Linked DNA regions of Homo sapiens: all the other regions are linked to region 1. Evidence: promoter capture Hi-C in human tissues and cell types (Jung and others, 2019). All regions are on one chromosome and are shown on one strand. The core of a region is centred on a gene start or on the middle of the fragment in contact, and the rest is flanking DNA. Distances in the headings are between cores, read along the strand shown.

The links. The method cuts DNA at HindIII sites, captures the fragments that hold promoters and counts their contacts. A contact is called where the count stands out against the background at its distance.
Region 2: the fragment with the promoter of MUC17 here is called in contact with the fragment with the promoter of CLDN15 in region 1 in 2 of the 25 tissues and cell types used here (adrenal gland and aorta).
Region 3: a fragment that was not itself captured here is called in contact with the fragment with the promoter of CLDN15 in region 1 in 1 of the 25 tissues and cell types used here (H1 embryonic stem cells).

Annotation. Positions count from the first base shown.
Region 1 is chr7:101,236,151-101,240,155 of GRCh38, forward strand. CLDN15 (claudin 15) reads right to left here and starts at 1,652. Exons shown (of 5, transcript NM_014343.3): 1 at 1,215-1,652. The coding sequence starts at 1,431. FIS1 (fission, mitochondrial 1) reads right to left here. Exons shown (of 5, transcript NM_016068.3): 4 at 3,992-4,005; 5 at 3,322-3,753. The coding sequence ends at 3,656. RefSeq lists an enhancer at 3,770-4,005. The HindIII fragment of the contact is 32,734 bases long and covers 1-4,005 here.
Region 2 is chr7:101,017,884-101,021,888 of GRCh38, forward strand. MUC17 (mucin 17, cell surface associated) reads left to right here and starts at 2,198. Exons shown (of 13, transcript NM_001040105.2): 1 at 2,198-2,334. The coding sequence starts at 2,253. It overlaps MUC12 (mucin 12, cell surface associated), which reads left to right. Exons shown (of 12, transcript NM_001164462.2): 12 at 712-1,053. The coding sequence ends at 753. RefSeq lists a silencer at 605-899 and an enhancer at 949-1,098. The HindIII fragment of the contact is 20,706 bases long and covers 1-4,005 here.
Region 3 is chr7:101,370,043-101,374,047 of GRCh38, forward strand. The region is part of intron 1 of COL26A1 (collagen type XXVI alpha 1 chain); the gene reads left to right. Among named protein-coding and RNA genes, the nearest start is that of COL26A1, 9.2 kb to the left of the region's middle. RefSeq lists an enhancer at 2,577-3,115. The HindIII fragment of the contact is 5,075 bases long and covers 1-4,005 here.

The DNA.
Region 1 (4,005 bases), core at 402-2,901:
ATGATGTGTCTGGGAAGTGGGTGTAGGGGCTGCCTCCAGTGTCCCTTCTGGACACTCAGAACTCTGGGGTTCTGGCCCAAGTTGTACTCAGCTTTTATAGGGTTTTTTTTGGGGGGGGGGCCCGCCGGCCCTGCATACAGTCAGTCCTAGAGAGATGGATGAAAACAGGAAGCCTCTGCCGCTGCCTCAGGAGGGGCTGGGAGTAGTGGGGGCACAGGAGACCCACCCAGGCCCCCTAACTGCTCAGAGCAGCTCCAACATCCCCGGGGGTGAGCTCTCAAGCCCCGCTTCACAGCCAGTGTCGCCCTCGGCTCCTTCCCTGCCACACGGTGCCTGGTGAGTGGACTGGCCCTGAAGGACCCAGGAGGGCGTGCAGCGGCACCACACACAGTTCACGGTCGCCAGCGCTCAGTCTCTGGCATAGGGCAGACGGAAGGGAGACTGCCCCGGAGAAACAATGGGGCGGCCTCATCTTAGCGGGGAGCAGGGAGCGGGAAGGTGCCGCAGCCACAGAAAGAACTGCCCTGGGCCCAAAGAGCTGTTGGCTCCAGCCCTCTAAGACCCCAGAAAGACACTGTCCTGGAAGCCCCACACACCTGCACACACACCGCCTCCTTACAGCGGACGCTCAACCTGCAACTTGCAAGACGCCTCCCTTCACAGGGGCCCTTTATAGACATCAGCCGGACAAGGAGACCAGTGCCCCCCGACAGTGAGGCTGGGGAGTCTGTGGAGCCTGGAAGTTGATCAACCTCTAAGAATCCAAGATGGGGCCTCCTCCCCCTGCCCACCCCAGCAATCCCACCCCCAAAACATGCTCAACCGTACTGAGTGCCTATGTGTGTTAACATCACGCTAACATTCTGCACTTTCTCAGTCACCTGTGAACTGGGACTCTCACCCTAACCCTACAGGTGGGAGATGAAGCTGGTTTCATCATTTGCCCACAGCACAGGGCTGGGAAAGGGGGTCTGATTCTGGTGCCTGCACCTGTAACAGCTAAAAGCGCCACACTAGCGCAGGGGGCCACGTGTGGCAAGGTCTTCACTCCAGTTCTAGGCATGGGCCGCCCCCAGCACTCCTGGCTGCGGGAACTCAGACCCGCAGAGCTTAATTCAGGGCTCCCTGCATCCTCACGGAAGTACCCGCCCTCCCCTGGGGTCTCTGCAGCTTCCCCGCCGCCCTCTCTCCCTGGAGCGCTCCCCACCCCATACCAGAGAGGGCCAGCATGGACGGGAACTCCCAGCAGTTGTAGACGCCCAGGGAGTCGGTGGCACAGCTAAACCAGAGGTTCTCGAAGATGGTGTTGGTGGTGATGACGTTCCCGTGCACAGTGGACACTCGCCAGTAGCTGTTTGGCAGAGTCACCCCCAGCATCAGCAGCCCCACAGTTGCCATGAAGAAGCCAAAGGTTTCCACAGCCATCGACATGGTGGGATGCAGGACCCTGGGGGGCTGGTGCCCCAGAGAGGGGGAGGGGCAGAACCCCTAGGGAACTGGAAGGGGCTGCGGCTAAGGAGGGTTGTCCAGGCAGGCTGGGGTGGAATCAGCCTCAGCCTCTGCCTGCCTCTTCCTCGGGCTCAGGTCCGTCTCCACTTTCTGCCTCCCTCCTGCTCTGTGGGTCTCTCTGCTTCCTGGCAGGTCAGAGGAATGAGCTAAGCCTGCGCGCGGCAGCTGTTGACGAGATGGAGGGAATAACCGAAACGGGCCAAAAGTCCACCCCCTCCCCCCAGCCTCTGGGCTGCCCCGGGCTCCCCGCCCCACGAGGGTGGGGGGGGCAGACTTACCCTGGAGCCACTGACGGATACAGCCAAGGAGGGGCCCCCAAGGGAGGCACTGGGAACTGAGGGGAAGCGTCTGTCTCTGACTCAGCTTTCATTGGGGGCCAAAGAACGGAGTAAGAGGGACAAGGAGTGAAAAGATGACAGAGACAGACGTGAGAGCAATAAGGGACAGAGACGGAGAGAGAATGAACAGCAGCCTTCAGTGGTGAAGGACGGAGGAACCACGAGAACAATCTAAGATACTCAGACCAAGGGGTTGGGGCGTATGAGTCTCTTAAGGAAGATCAAGCTGGAATGAGGGGATGGGAGGGTAGGAGACCCACAGCTCTGGGCTCCATCCAGCCTGGAATGGAACTCGGCCCCACCATCCATTCACCAGGGAACTCAGGCGGGGAGTTTTAGTCCCCTGAGCTTCTGCTCTGTCAGTGACATACCCGACTGCTTACTGCAGGGGCTGTGGTGAGAACTGGGACCAGGGGCCGGGCGCAGTGGCTCTCGCCTGTAATCCTACCACTTTGGGAGGCTGGGCTGAGACGATTGCTTGAACTCAGGAGTTCAAGACCAGCCTGGGCAACACACTGAGACCTCGTTGGGACCAGGGAGTCAAGCCCCCCACACATAACCAGCGCTTGGCACCGGGAACTGTCCTGGATGTGAGTGTCACAGGGCTGAGGCCACCAGGGAGTCGCTCTCACCCAAAACTCAAATTTCCTCCTAAGTTGATCTTTGACTCAGCATCGAGCCTGGTCCTGCTGGCCAACAGCCTGGAGCGTGATCCTGTGGCTAAGCTCTGCAACCTGTTCCCAGTTATCAGGGACTGTCACCCACTCTATTCGTTAATGATGATGGATTAGCAGCCTCTGGTCCCCATCCCGAGCCAGTGCAGAGCACCTGTCCCAGAGCAGACACTCTCATCTCCTGCTCCGGTTCCCTAGGGCTCTGTCCCTGGGGGCCATCAGCGCTGGCTGCGCACCTCCCTGGCCCCACGGCCCTGCTGGGCTTCTCCGGCCTCCCCTCAGGTGTCTCCTCCCTACTCCTGTGCTGGCCTGGGCTGTGGAACGAGAGGTATGCGGTGAAGCAAAACAGGCCCATGCCGAGCCTGGCACGAGGGGGCGAAGCTGGCTAGGTGGGGCTGAGTCCTGACCTTCCAGCCCACAGGCGAGAGCTGGGGCTCCCTGGGCTCTGACCTCTCCCGGGACCCCCGCCTACTCCATGCCAGATGCAGGATTCCTTCCCCTACTGGGCTCCCCCTCCCCCAGAGGAGGAGGTAGGAGGAAGGGGAGGCCACAGGAAGACAAAGGGAGGGGAGGGTGGGGAGGAGGAAGCCAAGGGGGCCTGCTGTGGAAAACTCCACAGAAGTAGCTGAGTGGGTCAGAGGAGAATGCAGGCCTGAAGCCCGGCCTGGCCCCGAAGTTCTGCCCGCCCATGCTCAGGTCACTGCCTTCTCCCAGGACTCTGGGACCATGGAAAAGCCCCATGTCTCCGAGCTGCCCGGCACTCTCAAGGACATGGCTTCAGGAAAGGGAGGAAGGAAGGGTGTGGGCTCTGGGCTGCGGGGTGGACAAAGAACCCCGTGCCAACCTGGAGGGCAGGGGCAGGAGAGGACCAGGAGTGACGTCTCCGCCCCCTGTGCCCAGCGTTCAGAACCCACCCCTCCCCTCAACGCAGACACGGGGGTTCCCAAGCCACAGCCCCGTTTTATTTACACTCATCCCAAAGCACATGATGGGGCTGAAGGACGAATCTCAGGGGAGCAGAAATTAGCTGAAGGCCACAGAGGATAGAGACGGGGGGCAGGGGGAGAACAGGGAAAGGACAGCGAGGATGGACAGGCCCTCCTGGAGCGTTCTCCGTGGGCTCCCGCGTCTCCTTCAGGATTTGGACTTGGACACAGCAAGTCCGATGAGTCCGGCCAGTCCCGCCACACCCAGGGCCATGCCTCCCACGATGGCCATGCCCACGAGTCCATCTGGGGAAGGAAAGGGACAGTGTCAGGAGCCCGGCCCCTGCGGAAACCCTGACCGTCCCCTTCCGCCAGCCCTGCCCCTCAACAGAGGCACACCCCTACCTGGAGTCGCAGGGCAAGGGGCTCTAAGAACTGGAAGGGGTGGGGCTGAGGGGCTGCCTGGAGGGGTTCATTTACAGAGAGACCAAAGTGCCCAGGCGTGGGGAAGAGCGGGGCTGAACAAAGGGGCCGAGGCTGTCACCTTTCTTCATGGCC
Region 2 (4,005 bases), core at 948-3,447, 220 kb before region 1:
CCCCTTCCCTTCCCCCTGGGACTCCCTCCCTCCCCCTGGGACCCCTTCCCTTCCCCCTGGGATTCCCTCCCTCCCCCTGGGACCCCTTCCCTTCCCCCTGGGACTCCCTCCCTCCCCCTGGGACCCCTTCCCTTCCCCCTGGGACTCCCTCCCTCCCCCTGGGACCCCTTCCCTTCCCCCTGGGACTCCCTCCCTCCCCCTGGGACCCCTCCCTTCCCCCCTGGATTCCCTCCCTCCCCCTGGGACCCCTTCCCCTTCCCCCTGGGACTCCCTCCCCTCCCCCTGGGACCCCTTCCCTTCCCCCTGGGACTCCCTCCCTCCCCCTGGGACCCCTTCCCTTCCCCCGGGACTCCCTCCCTTCCCCCGGGACTCCCTCCTCCCCCAGGACTCCCTCCTCTCCTTAGGACTCCCTCCCTCTCCCTGGGACACTCTCCCTACCCCTGGGACTCCCTTCTCCCCCTAGGACTCCCTCCCTTCTCCTGGGACTCCCTCCTCCCCCAGGACTCCCTCCTCACCCTGGGGCCACCCCTTCCCCTGGGACTCCCCCCTCCCCCGCCACTCCCTCCTCTCCCTAGGACTCCCTCCCTCCCCCTGGGACTCCCTCCCTCCCCCTGGGGTTCCCTCCTCCCCGCCAGGGCTCCCTCTTCCTCCTGGGGCTCCCCCTTTCCCGGGTCTGCCCCTTGGCCTCACCTCTTCTCTCCCGTCCCCCAGCTCCACATCCAGAGGCCGGAGATGGTAGCATCCACTGTGTGAGCCAACGGGGGCCTCCCACCCTCATCTAGCTCTGTTCAGGAGAGCTGCAAACACAGAGCCCACCACAAGCCTCCGGGGCGGGTCAAGAGGAGACCGAAGTCAGGCCCTGAAGCCGGTCCTGCTCTGAGCTGACAGACTTGGCCAGTCCCCTGCCTGTGCTCCTGCTGGGGAAGGCTGGGGGCTGTAAGCCTCTCCATCCGGGAGCTTCCAGACTCCCAGAAGCCTCGGCACCCCTGTCTCCTCCTGGGTGGCTCCCCACTCTGGAATTTCCCTACCAATAAAAGCAAATCTGAAAGCTCAGAATGAGAAGTGAGAGGTTTCCTTCTCCTCCTTCTGCAGTTGGGGTCAGGTTAGGGGTCAGAGCCCTCCTGGGATGGGATTTCTCCCAGGACTGGCTGCTGAATGGGGCATGGAACGAATGCTCTGGGCCCCTTCCTGTGTCTTTGCAGGGAGCCCCCTCCCCGGCTCCAGTCAGGACAGGTCTAGGCCTGCCTCTGCTGAGGTCCCTGTGGCAGAAAAGCCTAATGTCAGGTTCTGGGGACAGGAGAGGACCTCAGATTCAACCCCAGTTGGCCAGGGAGTGAGCACTTGGCTCTGCTGAGCTTGCACAAGGCAGGGTCACTCCAGATGGCCATGGGAGCTGTGCTTACCTCGGAACCCACAGACCAAACCCAAGAACTCCCTGCCCAGGCATGGCCATGTCTTCAGGGCATACTCATAGGACAATAAGAAGGGTTATTTTATTTATTTATTTTTGCCGAGACAGAGTCTTGCTCTGTTGCCCAGGCTGGAGTACGGAGGCACGATCTTGGCTCTCTGCAACCTCCGCCTCCCAGGTTCAAGCGATTCTCCTGCCTCAGCCTCCTGAGTAGCTGGGATTACAGGCGCCCGCCACCAAGTCTGGCTGATTTTTGTATTTTTAGTAGAGATGGTGTTTCATCATGTTGGCCAGGTTGGTCTCAAACTCCTCATCTCAAGTGATCTTCCCGCGTCAGCCTCCCAAAGTGCTGGGATTACAGGTGTGAGCCACCATACCCGGCCAATAAGAAGGGTTAGAAAAGAGACAAAGGGGGTGTCCCTGCTAGGGGTTAGGGTCAAATGCAGGTGGTACCCTCCTCCTTTCCCAGCTCAGGCCCAGTCCCTCTTGCCCATCTCCCACCACCCTCGGTCGGGGGATCTCATCAGTTCCCCCCTGGCTCCTACAGGCCCTCTGGGCTGCCCCTCTGTTGGGGTGATAAAGCTGATAACCCTCATGCCTATGGGCTGCCGGGCCAGGGAGAGGCACCCCCTCCCTCTGCCCTTTGGCCTGAAACAGGCCCTGCGCCCCAAGTCATGAGGGAAGCTTCCAGACTGACTCAGGCTCAGGCTGGCCCCTGATCCCCAGTGTCTCAGGGACCAAAGGTCTCTGGCACCCATTTATTTATCAGTTTCCTTCTCTGAGGCTCATTTCGCCAGCTCCTCTGGGGGTGACAGGCAAGTGAGACGTGCTCAGAGCTCCGATGCCAAGGCCAGGGACCATGGCGCTGTGTCTGCTGACCTTGGTCCTCTCGCTCTTGCCCCCACAAGCTGCTGCAGAACAGGGTGAGTGACCCCCACGCCCCGCTGCCCAAGAGGCCCCCATCCCAGGGGCCAGCCTGCTCTGTCTGCCCATCCCCGAGGGAGAGCTGCCTCCAGGACACCAATAGGGGTGTGCCCTCTGCCTGGAGCTCAGCCCTGTGCCTACCCCCTGGACTTCTCTTCTCTCCCCAGCGAGCTTTGGGGGAAGAGCCAGGGCATTGGAGCCTCTTCCAGTTGAGGTCTCTGAGCCTTAGTTTCCCCTTCCGAGCCTCAGTCTCCCCTCCGGAAAGTAAGAATAATAACACCTGCTTTTCAGGGCAGCTGCTAGGATTGAAAAGAGCTCCCCCCCCGAGGCATGATCCCTGGCACAAGACTGGTGTTCAACCCATATTAGAGTCTATCCTTACCCAGTGAATGTTCCCGCCAAGTCCCTGTCACCTCCCACACCAGCACACCCTGCTGTGTGCCCCAGGAATGTTTCCGGGACATAGCCACATGGGCACAAAATGGCGTTTCAGGAGCCCCAGATTCTAATCCTGCCATGAACCAGCTGTGCACCCTGGGGCCGCTCAGTTCATCTCCTGCCTCAGTCTCCCCAAAAGACAAGGCATTAGGACCTCTGAGGATCATTCCAGCTCAGCCGCTTTGGGCTTCATGGCCACAGGGACCCCGGGGGGCTCAGAGCAGGAGGGATGACAGTGGGTTCCAGCTGGACTCTCTGGGAGCTCCCTCTGCCCCTCACCTGCCCCCAGAGAAGGGCGCAGGGGAACCAAGACAGAAACTGGACCCATAGACCTCAGGGTCCCTGCCCCTCGAGATGTCACCCTGTGGCAATCTCACCCAGATCTGCCAGCCCATTCGTTGTAATGAAAACACTCCTTTCCTTGCACTTTCTGTGCCTTCCAGACCCTTGGTGATGTATCTCTAATAACAGCATCTTAGACATGATCTTTTGTTTTCCTCCCCAACCCTCACCTCTGTCTCCTCCTTTTTTTTTTTTTTTTTTTTTTGAGACGGAGCCTCGCTCTGTCACCCAGGCTGGAGTTCTGTAGCGTGATGTCAGCCCACTGCAACCTCTGCCTCCCGGGTTCAAGCGATTCTCCCGCCTCAGGCTCTTGAGTAGCTGGGATTACAGCCACATGCCACCATGCCCAGCTAGATTTTGTATATTTTTAGTAAGGACAGGGTTTCACCATGTTAACCGGGCTGGTCTCAAACTCCTGATCTCAGGTAGTCCTCCCACCTTGGGCTCCCAAAGTGCTGGGATTACAGGGGTGAGCCACCGCTCCTGGCCCCCTCCTTTCTTTCTCTCTGCTCCTCCCTTCCCTCTTCCTGGGTTCTTCTAGCCCCTTCCTTCCCCCTCTCTTCTCTTTCTTCTTCTCCCCACCTCTCCTTGGCCCCTTCCTGGCCTCTCCCCACTTTCTGCGTGTTATCATTGATTTCATCCCTAGCCTCAGTCTGCCTTTGTAGAATGTGACTTCTCAGACCCTGTTCCTACTCTCCAGGATTCTGTGGCTCCTCCGTCTCTGTGCCTGGCATTGGCTGTCCTTTGGGACCCTGGCCAGCTTTGGGCAGCCTCTGACCCTTTCCATGTCCCTTCTCCAGGGACCCAGAGCCTCACCCCTGCTGAAGTCATGGGGCTGGGGATACCAGGGCAGGGCGTGGGTCTAGAGAGAGAGCTGCAGTGGCCTCAGC
Region 3 (4,005 bases), core at 1,089-3,588, 130 kb after region 1:
GTAGAGATGGGTTTCTCCATGTTGGTCAGGCTGGTCTCAAACTCCCGACTTCAGGTGATCCACCCGCCTCAGCCTCCCAAAGTGCTGGGATTACAGGCATGAACCACCGCGCCTGGCCTGAAGAGGACATTTTAAATGATGCTGGTTGATATGGCCTTTCAGGGGTAAGAATAGACTTCCCTGATCTTATAGCACCTGCAAGTCCTGGCCACCCCTAACCTTTTTGGGGCTTGGGGCAAGACTAAAGATGAAGACCATTCACCATTTGGCTAGATATTTAAAAGTATAAAATCAAGCTGACACACTGTTTGTTTTGTTGTTGTTGTTTGTTTTGTTTTTGTTTTTTGAGACGGAGTCTGGCTCTGTTGCCCAGGCTGGAGTGCAGTGGCACGATCTTAGCTCACTGCAACCTCCGCTTCCCAGGTTGAAGCGATTCTCCTGCCTCAGCCTTCCGACTAGCTGGTATTACAGGCATGCACCACCATGCCTGGCTAATTTTTTGTATTTTTAGAAGAGATGGGGTTTTGTCATGTTGGCCAGGCTGGTCTCGAACTCCTGACCTCAGGTTATCTGCCCACCTCATCCTCCCAAAGTGCTGGGATTACAGGCATGAGCCACTGCACCCTGCCCACCTTTCCTTCATCTATACCTGCTGCTTCAAACTCTCTCTGTCTCTGAATTCACTTTCTTGTGGTTTCGTCTAAGCCAAAGTGCTTGGTGTGTCCCCTCCTCACTCAAAATGCCTCCCTCTTACCTTGACTCCCCCCTCTTTTGGTAGAACCACAAGCACCCTTCCTCCAGGAAGTCTCTCTGGATTTACCTCCCAGCTTTCTGTTCATCTCATTTGTGGGTAGCCCCTGCACCTGTGATTTGTGGGTAGCCCCTGCATCTGTGATTGTGGTTTTGGTTCTAGAACTCACTTCCCCAGTTTCCCTCCTTGCAGATGGAGTCATTTCTCCTTCCTCATTTACTCCCTACAGGAGTGGCTCTGAGCAGCCGTCCTTGGGCAAGCGTGCATGAGCTGGAGCTTAGCCCTGCCCACCACCCACCACTGCCTCTTGGAAATGTGAGCCGCTCCAGGTCAGGCATTTAATCACCTTGCATTCACTGAGCCCACGTGTAGGTAGGGTAGAGGCTGGGGACTCAAACGTGAAGGCAGGGGGCTGTGCCTGGTGGCCTGCATGGAGGAAGAGCTCAGCAGACTCTGGGGAAGTGGATGATCACATCCATGGGGACTTGTCCCTCCGACTGGATTGCATGCCTCTGCAGTGTTGGACCCCTGCCTTTGCTCTCTGGTTCCCTACATTCAAGAATTGGCAACTGTGATTAGCTATGGTGCCTCATGCCTTTAATCCCAGCACTTTGGGAGACCGAGGTGGGAGGATCACTTGAGCCCAGGAGTTTGAGACCAGCTGGGACAACATAGCCAGACCCTGTCTCTGTAAAAAAAAAAAAAATTAAAAAATTAGCTGGGTGTGGTGGTGCACACTTGTAGTCCTGGTGGAAGCTGAGGTAGGAGGATCACTTGAGCCCAGGAGTTTGAGACCAGCCCGGGAAATATAGTCAGACCCTGTCTTTGCAAAAAAAAAACTTTAAAAAATTAGTTGGGCATGGTGGTGCACACTTGTAGTCCCAGGTATTTGGGAGGCTAAGGTGGGAAGAACGCTTGAACCCAGGAAGTTGAAGCTGCAGTGAGCTATGATTACACCACTGCGCTCCAGCCTGGGTGACAGAGTGAGACCCTGTCTCTGGGGCAGTGAGATGTTTCAGACCCAGCCTCCGTCCTTGATGAGCTCAGAGACTGGTTGGGGAAAACAGATCCATGAGCAAGAGTGGAATTTGGTGTGATACAAATGTGTGCAAAGTGAGCTAGGGGAGTTAGGGTTTGTGGGAGCCTGGGAGTCTTTGTGCCTCAGTTTTCTCATCTGTAAAATGGGAATGACTTCAGTACTTCATTAAGTTGTTCTGGGGCTTACATGGGTTAATATTAATAATGTTCTTAGGAAAAAGGATAGTAAACCCTCTGTTCATGAATGTGACCGTGGACTGCATTCATATGCCTTGCAAAGGTTGCAAGGACGGGGGAGTTCCACAAATATATGAAGCCTTGGAATCTTTTTCTGGGGAGCATTTTGTTTTTTGAGACGGAGTCTGGCTGTGTTGCCCAGGCTGGAGTGCAGTGGTGCGATCTTGGCTCACTGCAACCTCCGCCTCCAGGGTTCAAGCGATTGTCCTGCCCCAGCCTCCCAAGTAGCTGGGATTACAGGCGCCCACCAACATGCCAGGCTAAGTTTTGTATTTTTAGTAGAGCTGGGGTTTCTCCACGTTGGCCAGGTCTTGAACTCCTGACGTCAAGTGATCCATCTGCCTTGGCCTCCCAAAGTGCTGGGATTATAGGTGTGAGCCACCGCACCTGGCCTTCTGGGGAGCATTTTGTTAGGATTGTGTTCCTGACCACATACTTAGGGAAATGTTCTAGTGGATAGAGACTAAATGTTGAGGACTTCTCAGAGGAGTCAACATAGGAGGTGGGTTTTGTAGGATGAACAGGAGAGCTTGAGGCAGTGACTGGGGCATTCTGGGCAGACAGACAACTGTGTAAAGGCTTGGAAGTGTCATTAGCTATTGCCTGACATATAGTTAGTGGGACTGAGTTCAGAGTGGCTGGACTAATGGGATGTGGTGGCTCATGCCTGTAATCCCAGCACTTTGGGAGGCCAAGGTGGGAGGATTGCTTGAGCTCAGGAGTTCAAGACCAGCCTGGGCAACACAGCAAGACCCCGTCTCTACCAAAAATAAAAAATTAGCCAGGTGTGGTGGAACACACCTGTAGTCTCAGCTACTCAGGAGACTGAGGTGGGAGGATTGCTTGAGCCCAGGAGTTTGAGGCCGCAGTGAACTATGATCGTGCCACTGCACTCCAATCAGGGTGACAGAGCAAGAGCAGACCATGGGCTTGGGCAGGCAGAGGACAGGCACTGAGCTTTTGGAGTCTGGATGTGAAGTCTCCTTCCTGCCACCTTGAGGAGCTTGCCTTCATAGTCTGGGCTTTGTCACAGTCAGGCTTGTGCCAACTTTGCTGGTCGGGGAGAGGCTGGCAGAGGAAGGATAGTGGAAGGAGGGAGGCCAGTTAGGAGGTAGTTGATGGATGGAGCAGGGGAGAAGGGAGTGCTCAGAGCTAGCAGGACCTGGCCCCTTGGTGGATCACGGATAGGCAGAGACAGGCTACAGGCCTGAGCTCCTGGCTGTCTCCAGTGCCTGGGGGACACCAAGGAGCCTGCTGCTTTGCTTCTCAGAACATTGCAAATTTTTTGCAGCACTTTCTTGGTTTGCAATGGCAGCAAAGCAGAGTTCAAACATCTTGCATTTTTGTGAAATACTTTTATTTTTCCTGCATGGAGTTTTCAACCCCAAATTTCAGCATCTCCTGGACTTGCACGGATCAGGTGCTCAAGGAAAGTTTGTTGAGTGAATGAATGAACACATGAATGAATGAACAAATACCTTGACCTTTCTCCTTTGGGACACCGAGGCAGTGCCTCTGCCTCAGTGCACGTTTGCAGTTCTGAGGGATCCTGGAGCGAGGTCCCTTTCTCTGCACAGGCCAGCTCCTGAAGCTGCTTTTAGGGGAACCATGGAGACTCCAGCTTTAGAGGTCCCGCTTCTCCCTTTGAAGTGTGAGCACATAGAGGAGGGAGACTTTTCCTGAGAATCACACAGAATGGCTTTGATGTTAATATCAGTGAGACCTTGTCCTCAAGCTCCAGGATTTTCTGAATCTTCCCTCTCTTCATCTCACTCCCCTCTTCCCCCAGCTCATCTGTTATTTTAAAATCCATTCCCAGAGAAACAATTCCTATGGCAATAAGAGCACTCCTCCAGGCTTCTCTTGGCTCGAACTCGTGTGACACTTCATTGCCACTTCCAGAGTGTGTGAGCTGGACCCGGACCAATTCAGCCTGGGGCAGGGGAAAAGAGCAACAATAACTAACTGTTAGAGGATTT